2 separate regions of the Homo sapiens genome follow, and region 1 is linked to region 2. Evidence: promoter capture Hi-C in 16 types of primary human blood cells and fetal thymus (Javierre and others, 2016). All regions are on one chromosome and are shown on one strand. Each heading gives the region's core, a stretch centred on a gene start or on the middle of the fragment in contact. The rest is flanking DNA. Distances are from core to core; before and after follow the strand shown.

The links. Contacts are between HindIII fragments. The CHiCAGO score rates a contact against its expected background, and 5 or more counts as called.
Region 1: a contact is called between a fragment that was not itself captured here and the fragment with the promoter of WSB1 in region 2, in 1 of 17 cell types (fetal thymus). The highest score is 5.0, in fetal thymus.

What each region holds. Positions count from the first base shown.
Region 1 is chr17:73,226,626-73,231,422 of GRCh38, reverse strand. It overlaps VCF1 (VCP nuclear cofactor family member 1), which reads left to right. Exons shown (of 4, transcript NM_001098832.2): 2 at 4,159-4,258. Among named protein-coding and RNA genes, the nearest start is that of VCF1, 3.4 kb to the left of the region's middle. RefSeq lists enhancers at 1-312, 2,394-2,443. The HindIII fragment of the contact is 3,216 bases long and covers 1-2,858 here.
Region 2 is chr17:27,290,403-27,295,445 of GRCh38, reverse strand. It overlaps WSB1 (WD repeat and SOCS box containing 1), which reads right to left and starts at 1,332. Exons shown (of 9, transcript NM_015626.10): 1 at 1,011-1,332. The coding sequence starts at 1,050. MIR4522 (microRNA 4522) reads left to right here and starts at 1,450; the gene lies at 1,450-1,536. RefSeq lists enhancers at 1,054-1,113, 1,124-1,183, 1,554-1,603 and a silencer at 1,304-1,513. The HindIII fragment of the contact is 5,795 bases long and covers 416-5,043 here.

The DNA.
Region 1 (4,797 bases), core at 1-2,500, about 46 Mb before region 2:
GCCTCGGGACGCGGGTCTTAAATTAGGGGTTCTGTGCTTGACATGTACTACTAGAGTCCGGACTAAGTTGGGATTTCTTAATTTTTTTCTCTCTCTTAATTTCCTCTGCAAGAATGTGTGGAGGAGAAAGTTGGGAAAGGTTACCTCAGAATGCTCTTCCTGTTACGGTCTTTCCACAAGGATCCTTCTCTGAAATAATTATTTCATGTGATTGAAGTTCTCAAAAGTATTCTGAGTTTATTTGGTCCCATAGTGAAAACCTAGGGTTCCCCAAGCTGCTGCATTGGATTATTGATTTGGGTCATGTAGCAGGTGGAGCATAAAGCCTCTCCTTGTATAGAAAAGAAGAGTGGACTAAATTTGAAATTGGGGGCCCAATTACAGACATGCCATCGGAATTAGGAGCAAGATCTTTAGATACAGTGAATCTGACCCGACTGCCATATTATTCTTTCCCAAACCCAGTTTATACTTACGATATTCTCTTGGGGTGTCTCACATATCTGAAAAAAAATCTAAATATTTCCTACAAATAAAAATTCTACTGTACATAACTAATCTGAATGCATTTATACTGGCAGTAGATTCCTTTTATCTTGTACACAAATAATCTCAACATGTTTTAAAGAAGTTATTTGATTTGGACAGGCTTTTCCTGCCAGTGTTTAATGGAGTATGATGGGCCAGCTCTGCCAGCTCTAGGATGGTCTAAGACGGTGGTTTTTCGGCTGGGTGCGGTGGCTCACGCCTGTAATCCCAGCACTTTGGGAAGTCAAGGCGGGCGGATCACCTGAGGTCAGGAGTTGGAGATCACTCTGGCCAACATGGTGAAACTCTGTCTCTACTAAAAATACAAAAAAATTAGTTGGGCCTGGTGGTGGGCACCTTCATCCCAGCTACTTGGGAGGCTAAGGCAGGAGAATCGCTTGAACCTGGAAGGCGGAGGTTGCAGTGAGCGGAGATCACTGCACTCAAGCCTGAGCAACAAGAGCGAAACTTCCATCTAAAAAAAAAAAAGGGTTTTCAGGCTCTCCCACAGTAGATTGGATAGCCGCAGAGAGGTGAGTGTGTAGTGAGGGAGTCCCTGCTTATTGATTGATTGATTGGTTGATTGATTGACTGATTGATTGACAGAGTCTCACTCTGTCGACCAGGCTGGAGTGCAGTGGCCCCATCATGCCTCACTGCAGCCTCAACCTCCCAGGCTCAGGTGATCCTCCCACGTCAGCCTCCTGAGTAGCTGGAGCACAGGTGTGAGCTACCACACCCAGCTAATCTGTGTATTTTTGGTAGAGGTGGGGTTTCACTATATTGCCCAGGCTGGTCTTGAACTCCTGGGCTCAAGGGATCCACCCGCCTCGGCATCCCAAAGTGCTGGGATTACAGATGTGAGCCACCTCACCAGACTGGGAGTCCCTACTTTAACAGATCCTTTATCTCTTATATAGAGAGAATTTTTTTACAGTAAGAAAGAAAGAGTTCTGTTACTTTTTAAAATAAAGTTTGAAAACCACTAGTTTCCATACTCTTTTTTTTTTTTTTTTTTTTTTTTTTTGAGATGGAGTCTCACTGTGTCGGCCAGGCTGGAGTGCAGTGGTGCGATCTCGGCACACTGCAACCTCTACCTCCTGGGTTCAAGCAGTTCCCCTGCCTCAGCCTCCCAAGTAGCTGGGATTACAGGCACACGCCACCACGCCCTGCTAACTCTTTTGTATTTTTAGTAGAGACAGGGTTTCACCATGTGGGCCAGGCTGGTTTCGAACTCCTGACCTCAAGTGATCTGCCTGCCTCAGCCTCCCAAAGTGCTGGGATTACAGGTGTGAGTCACCGTGCCCAGCCCATACTCTTAAGATTATTTCTATGCCGAGTCTCTAGGAGATGACAGGAAGGTTGGAGAGAAATGAAATAATGCAACGTGATGGAATCAACCATCTGTAGAAGTAACAGATGCTAACTGGTAATCTGCACCTAGATGGTTAGGGAAGAATATAATCAGTTATAGGGGTGCCTGCTAAAATCATAACCTGGTCTGTGGCATTAATGCCAAAAATTGTAATCTGATTGATTGAACTGATAGGGATGAGCATGAAGCTGTAATCTTGCCAGTTGTTAACACCATTGTTGAAAGAAGAATGTTTCAAGGATGAGATCTGCTAAGAGCCTAGAAAAAGGCAAATGAAGAGCAGGTAGGACTCTTTCTTAATCTGGTACCATCCAGAGGAGAAGGCTACCAACAGGCCAAAGAGATTATTCTGGTGCCTTGAGAGATCAAGTAATTTATGAGGCAGGGATATTTCATGTGACTCTCCCAGAGATTAGTTGAAATCCACAAAATCATCTCATCTTTTTTTGTTCTTACAGTCCCTCTGCCATGCAACCTCCTTGACATTCATAGTCTTGTCCCTGGAAAGATCTATCCCCCATTATAAATGAGGAGATAGCAAATTTTGATCAGGCTCCTAAGTTTGGTTAGAGTGACTCAGCAGCCCAAAGCCCAGTCAGCTGTTGGCACGCTGATAAAATGGGTGTGTGAGGACCAGCAGCTGCTACTTACTCAATGACTTTCTCTTTGGGTGTCGACTGGCCTCCCAGCAGACATTGCTTTGCCTCTGCAGAACACTCCCACTCAAATTCCCTGATCATATTAGGATGAAATTAGCAGTTTCTTGGTTCAAATTTATGATAAAAGCACACCCATTTAATGATTATTAAAACCTGATATTCATCTATTTTTTTTTAACCTCCAACTACTTCAAAGTAATGTGCAGCTAAGATCTGATCTCCTAAGAGAAAGGTGGGGAGCAGAAATGTCTTAGAATGAAGTAAATTACATAGCCCAGTGCAGGATGGTTGAAGCTTTATCAGAACCACACACTCTTTATTATTCCAAACTTAAGCTGGGATCCATACTCATTATTAAAGTTAGACCTATTCAGAATGTTGCAGAGTACAGAGAAGTGAGCTTAGGGTGATCATTTATTTTCTCTAATATTCAAACCTCAACTCAAAACCTTTAGGATTAAAGGCCTGCCACTGTAAGCCACCCTACTCTCATAGAAAGTGTATAATTATTTAGAAGACACTATATCCTCCAAATGTACATGCTTTCCAAGAGCTGTGTGTCCACACTAGCCTTTTGTCTCTTAACTATAGAAAGCTGAAACTTCAAGGGTTTTGTAATAGGTGCTGCTGCCATGTACATACAGACCTCTAGCCTGTGCTGCTCCGGAGAACGTTCTGCAGTGACGGAAATGTCCTTTATCTGTGCTGGTCAGTGCAGTAGCCACTAGCTACACGTGGCCACTGAGCACTAGAAACAGGGCAGCTGTGACCTAGGAACTGGATGGTTAATTTTAGTTAATTTAAATGTAAATAACCATATGTGGCTAGTGGCTACCGTATTGGACAGTACAGTTCCGGGCAATTTGACTGAAAATTATACCTCCTTTAATTTATTTCTGTTTTCTAACAGGTTCAGAAATCGTTTTGACAGCACATAATTCTTAAATAGAGTACATGCAAATTTGGTCTTTCTTGCATGTCCGAGAACACTTGCCTAAGAAAGATGTGTGATTTTTCTTTAAACCTGGAAATTTTAAGCAGCTTATGCTATCATCTCATAGTAACAATCTAGTGAAGTAATTGTTATATCATAATACCGGCTAGTGTTGCCAGAATAAGCAGGTGAATGTGACCAAGAGGTACTTTTATAAGGGTTTTCAGGGCAAATAGGCAAAGGCAGCCACTCTTATATCAAATGTTGTCATATGGAAGGGAGTACAATTAGGTAACTCGGAATCCTAATTTCAGGGAGTGTAAAAAGAAGAAAACCTTAATTAGGTTAGAGGTTGAAAGCTTAGTCATTAACCTCTTCCTGTTCTTGTTTCAGTCCCAACAGACATTTAAAATTGTTAAGCTTCTTTTTAGAAATGAGTTTTACTAACTTAAGCTTGACCTCGCTGCTGCTGTCTTGTATTTTTGCTCTTAGTGTCCAGTGATGCTGTACTTCCAACTGATAACCTATTGGGATATCATATGCTGAATTATGTTTTCTCAGGCCAGAGGGCAAATTTATATGTTGTTATGGTTTGCAATTCAAGTGTCCAAAACATCGGTTGTTTGGGTTTTTTTTTTTTTCTCCTTGTGATTTAATTTCAGGAAAAGGAGAAGGAATGGCAACGAAGAAGACAACCATCTTCCCCCCCAGACCAAAAGAAGTAGCAGAAACCCTGTCTTTCAGGATTCCTGGGACACAGAGGTAGGAAGTGTGGTCACATAGTCTGTTGTTTTCACTGCTTGAGTTAAATAACCTAGTATCTGCTGTGTAATTAAATTTACTTAAACAGTAATTTAAAATGACCTTAGTTGATTATACTGGTTTAACCTTTCTGTTTCCAAATCAGGGTCCCTTTGAGGAAGCTGTGTACCCTGTCCCCAGCAAAACAGTACATATGTGCACATAGTCATATATGTACACACTCATTTGTATTTGTTAGAAATTTCGTGGCTTTTTGAAAGCCTATGTTTGAACTCACTGTTTTGTATTTCAGCAGCGAACTTCTTTTCTGGTAGTTTATAAACCATGAATTGTCCTTAAGATAAACATATTTTGTTGCTTCAATTCAAATGCCTTTTAAGAGAAACTTTAAGCATGTAAAATATGTAAGGTATGTGTATGCAGAATCCCATTTCTCAGTGTTTTTACTTTTCATTATCTTGTTGTGAAAAGAGCTCCTGTGGTGAGAGGGAAGGGGAGTTGGGTGTTCTGGAACTTTTTTACAATTTTTGATTTCATGA
Region 2 (5,043 bases), core at 83-2,582:
TAGATATAAAAATTCACCCACATACAAAATAGTGCGCGTTTTGGCTACTTCAGCCTCTTCCCTTCTCTAGAAATAACTCCTCCTTGTACTTAGTAAAGGCACACATTCACTTCAAGAGTAGGAAAATGTAAATGCTCTCTGCTCAGCGGCCGCAGCTAATTATTACTTCACACAGTAAGATCAGTGTTTGCTAAGTGTTATCAGCCAATGTACAGCACCCCCCAACACCGTCAAACGTTGTTCCAGTTATTTTACTTTAAAAGAGGATTTAAATAATGCGACGTGCTTTCCACTGAGCCACTAAGTAGGTGTGGACGCACAACCTTCAACACTAATTGCCCTTTACTAAGCCGACCAGGGCTAGACACTAAGCCAGAAAAGCCTTTTCCAGAGTTTCCTCTTCCGCACAAAAGCTTTCCTTCTGTCACTCCACCCAACCACCCAGCTCCTCCCTTAAGTGTTTGAAAGATAATTCTAAAAGTCTCCTCCCCCGAACCGCTGCGTTTCTTAAGGCCACACCATTTTAAAAATACTGTATTGCTTTTGCCAGGCTGTTGGGACCTCTTCCATCTCATTTCTATCTAAGAGTGGTTGGTACACACGAGGACCCCCTCCTTTCATTACCGCTTACAACCCACAAGTTTACTTTTCCCCATTGTAAACCTAAAGTCCCTGAGTGGCCCTTCCCTGTCCACTCGACAGTCATGCCCTGAGCCAAGAACTCCCAGGACAAGAGCCCTGCGCGGACCTCCGACGAAGAAACCGGGGTCCTTGCCCGCCCCAGCCACACAGCAACCGCGAGGGAGCACAGTAGGTGCTGCATCCACGTCGGTGCCGTTTACCCCTCAGCCAACTCCCACCGAGGCGGCTTCCTCCTCCTCGCTAGTGGGCTGGCCCTGGCGCACTGGAGCTCTTCCCTCAGACTTGGAGTCGCTTCCTCCCAAACCTCCTCCGGGGAGTCCCTGCCTCTCCTCGGCCCTCATGCGCCCACCCACGGTCCCAATCCTCACCGATCTCTTTCTCGTTGACCCTCGGGGGAAAGCTGGCCATCTATGGGGCACCGTCTGATTCCGGGAATACGATGCGGACCCAACAACAGAGAAGAGAGTGGCGACCGCTGAGGGGCGTGACGCCAAGTTGGTCCCTCCCGGGCCCAGGGACAGAGGAGACGGGCGGGGGCGGCCGCTGCGGCTTCTGCTAACTGCCTCGGGAAAGCTCCCGAAGGCCTCAGACCAAAGTACGGAGTCAACCACAGACAATAGACCCTGTACCCAGCCTCGCGCCTGCGGAGGAAGACAGTTCCCCTAAAGCGCCGACTGCAAACGAGACACTGGAGTCAAAATGGCGGGCGGCGCCGGAGATATCTGGGCGGCAGGGGCGCGGCCACGTGACGTCACAGCCCGAGGCCCCCGCCTCCCGACGCACGGGACGTGATCTCCCCGGCCCGGCGCGGGCGTTGCCTGGGGGCCTCGCAGGGGGAGATCCAGCCCAGGCTGGTTCCGCTGACTCTGCCTGTAGGCCGGTGGCGTCTTCTGGGCCTGGATGGTCTAATATGGAGTTTATAAGCTGAAGTGGCTTTGAAAAGGGCAAGCAGAGAATTGTATTATTATTAGCCTCCTAGCTTAAAGATTGCATGGAACTTAAACTGGCTGAACCAAAAGAACAAAAAGACATTTCAGGTTTTCACTCAATTTGGCCAACTCCCCAGCCCACAAGTAATAGGGAACTGAAGGATGCACTGATGAAAAAGACAGGATGAAAATTAACATCGTTGTGCACCACCTGTCCAGCTGCGATTGTTCAGACCTGAGCCAGCAGGTTTTAGGAAGGGCCGAGGGGAACGAGAAGGAGACTCGGGCGTGATCGCGCCGCACCGCGCCGCGGGGCCTCTCTGGACTGCCTTTGTCCTGGCCAAGATGGATCCCACTGTCCTGGCCAAGATGGATCCCACTGTGTCAGCTCAGAATTGGCCCTTCCTCCACCTTACCTGAAGGCCTCTGGGAGGCACCTAGTTGTCCACACATCAGACTGATAAATGTGTCAGTATCTGCTAGATGCCAGCTTGGTTCCCGGTCACAGATGACGTATTTGCATTTTAATGGCTTCTCGTGTGGACCCTAAACATTGCAAAGGCCTGGGGCGTATAAGACTGGGAATTCAAATATGTGGCAGATATTCATGGGACAGAGTAGAGTGTTGCATAGCCGCTTTTTTTTTTTTTTTTTTTTTTTTTTTTGAGACGGAGTCTCGCTTCTCCCAGGCTGGGGTGCAATGGCGTGATCTTGGCTCACTGCAACCTCCGTTTCCCGGGTTCAGGCAATTCTCCTGCCTCAGCCTCCCCAGTAGCTGGGATTTGTACAGGCATGTGACACCAAGCCCGGGTAATTTTTGTATTTTTAGTACAGAGGGCGTTTCACCCTGTTGGCCAGGCTAGTCTCGAACTCCTGGCCTCGAGTGATCCGCCCGCCTCAGCCTCCCAAAGTGCTGGGATTACAACGTGAGCCACCACGCCCGGCTGCATAGCCGCTTTTAAGAGATCTCAAATGATAACACTGTAGGGCATGTTTACTTCATCTTTTCTTTGCATGAGTGTATTAATTCTTCAAATAGCGAAATGTTTAATAAAACATCGCCCCTCCTTTTTTTTTTTTTTGGTTATTTATTTATTTTTTTTTTTGAGACGGAGTCTTGCTCTGTCTCCCAGAGCAGAGTGCAGTGGCGCCAACTCGGCTCACTGCAACCTCTGCCTCCCGGGTTCAGGCGATTCTCCTGCCTCAGCCTCCCGAGTAGCTGGGACTACAGGTGGCTGCCACCACGCCCAGCTAATTTTTTTCATCCTTTTAGTAGGGAGGGGGTTTCACGATATTGGCCAGGCTGGTCTTGAACTCCTGACCTTGTGATCTGCCCACCTCGGCCTCTCAAAGTGCTAGGATTAGAGGCGTTAAGCTACTGCGCCCTGCCTGCCCCTCGTCTTTAAAAAAAAATCACTTTGTTAGGCTGGGGGCGGTGGCTCACGCCTGTAATCTCAGCGCTTTGGGAGGCTGAGGCGGGTGTCAGGAGTTCGAGACCAGCCTGGCCAACATGGTGAAACCCCCATCTCTACTAAAAATACAAAAAATTAGCCAGGCGTAGTGGCGAAGTCCCAGCTACTCTGGAGGCTAAGGCAGGAGAATTGCTTGAAACCGGGAGGCAGAGGTTGCAGTGAGCTGAGGTTGCACCACTGCACTCTAGCCTGGGTGACAAGAGTGAAACTCTGTCTCAATAAATAAATAAATCAATAAATCACTTTGTTAGCTTCAGTCAACGATATCTTGAGGACTCACTCTGTATCAGGCACTGGGCCTAGTTGCTGAATTTTTAGAGTAGAACAAAAGAAAAACTTTAATGCAGTCTTGTAGCTCATGTACCAACATTCATATCAGTCTGAGTTAATTCTTTTAACCAACTGCTATTATCCCTGTTACTTGTACTATACCATACAAATTCATGGGAAATACCAGTTTTTGAGTGTCCAACAGTGAATTATTGTGATGACTTTTTCTTTTTTTTTTTCTCCCTGAGATGGAGTCTCACTCTGTCGCCCAGGCTGGAGTGCAGTGGCACGATCTCGGCTCACTGCAACCTTTGCCTCCTGGGTTCAGGTGATTCTCCTACCTCAGCCTTCCGAGTAGCTGGGATTACAGGCACACGCCACCATGGCTGGCTGATTTTTGTATTTTTAGTAGAGACGGGATTTCACCATGTTGGCCAGGCTGGTCTCAAACTCCTGACCTCAAGTGATCTGCCCGCCTTGGCCTCCCAAAGTGCTGGAATTACAGGCGTGAGCCACCCCGGCCAGACTTTTTAATACAATTGTTTAATTTCTATTTTAGTTTATTCCTGCAAGCCAACAGACTTCCTGGCCATTTTCTCAACTGGCAAAGCATGACAATGGAATGAAAAATAATTTTATGATTTGTGTACTCATTAGTAATAGATACTTCTAAGCACTGAGCCATATAAGTGCTTCTGTGGATTAACCGATTTCATGCTCACAACATATGAGCAGTGTATTGACATACATTACAGAAAAACTTTAATGCAGTCTTGTAGCTCATATACCAACATTTATATCCATCTCAGTTAATTCTTTTAACCAACTGCTATTATCCCTGTTACTTGTACTATACCATACAAATTCATGGGAAATACCAGTTCTTGAGTGTCCATCAGTGAATTATTGTGATGACTTTTTCTTTTTTTTTTTTCTCCCTGAGATGGAGTCTCATTCTGTCGCCCTGGCTGGAGTGCACATACAGTGTATTGACATACATTTCATAGACACTTAGTAACCTGAGAAGCCACAGGACAGAGTAAGCTGCAGGGGCTAGATCTGAACTCAGACTTGTTTGACTGCCCTGCTTCCATGCTACCTTGCCTCTCATAAATGAAACCTAGCTTGAAAAGCAAATATATACCTGGCATTTCATATCTGTGTTTGCTACTTTAATGTCAAATCTGAAGGGGCTTCTTATTCCCTACATGTCGCATAGATGTTGGGGTTCTCTAGAGTTCTGTCCTTGGCCCACAGCTTTTTTTTTTTCCTTCTTTCGCAGTCTCCCTGGGTGATGGCAACCTCTTTCTTGGGTTTAAATACCAGCTCTGTGTGAAGACCCTCAAGTTGAGAGCTAACTTCCGTCTTTTTTTTTTTTTTTTGAGACGGAGTCTTGCTTTGTCACCCAGGCTGGAGTGCAACAGCGCGATCTCAGCTCACTGCAACCTTCGCCTCCTGGACTCAAGCAGTTCTCCTGTGTCAGCCTTCCCAGTAGGTGGGATTACAGGTGCACACCACCATACCCAGCTAATTTTTGTATTTTTAGTAAAGACAGTGTTTCACCATGTTGACCAGGCTGGTCTCGAACTCCTGACCTCAGGTGATCCACCTGTGTCGGCTTCCCAAAGTGCCGGGATTACAGGCATGAGCCACTGAGCCCGGCCTGTCTTAAGTTTAAAATTTACATGTTCAAATGCTTACAATAAAACTCAAAATGTCAAAACTGAACA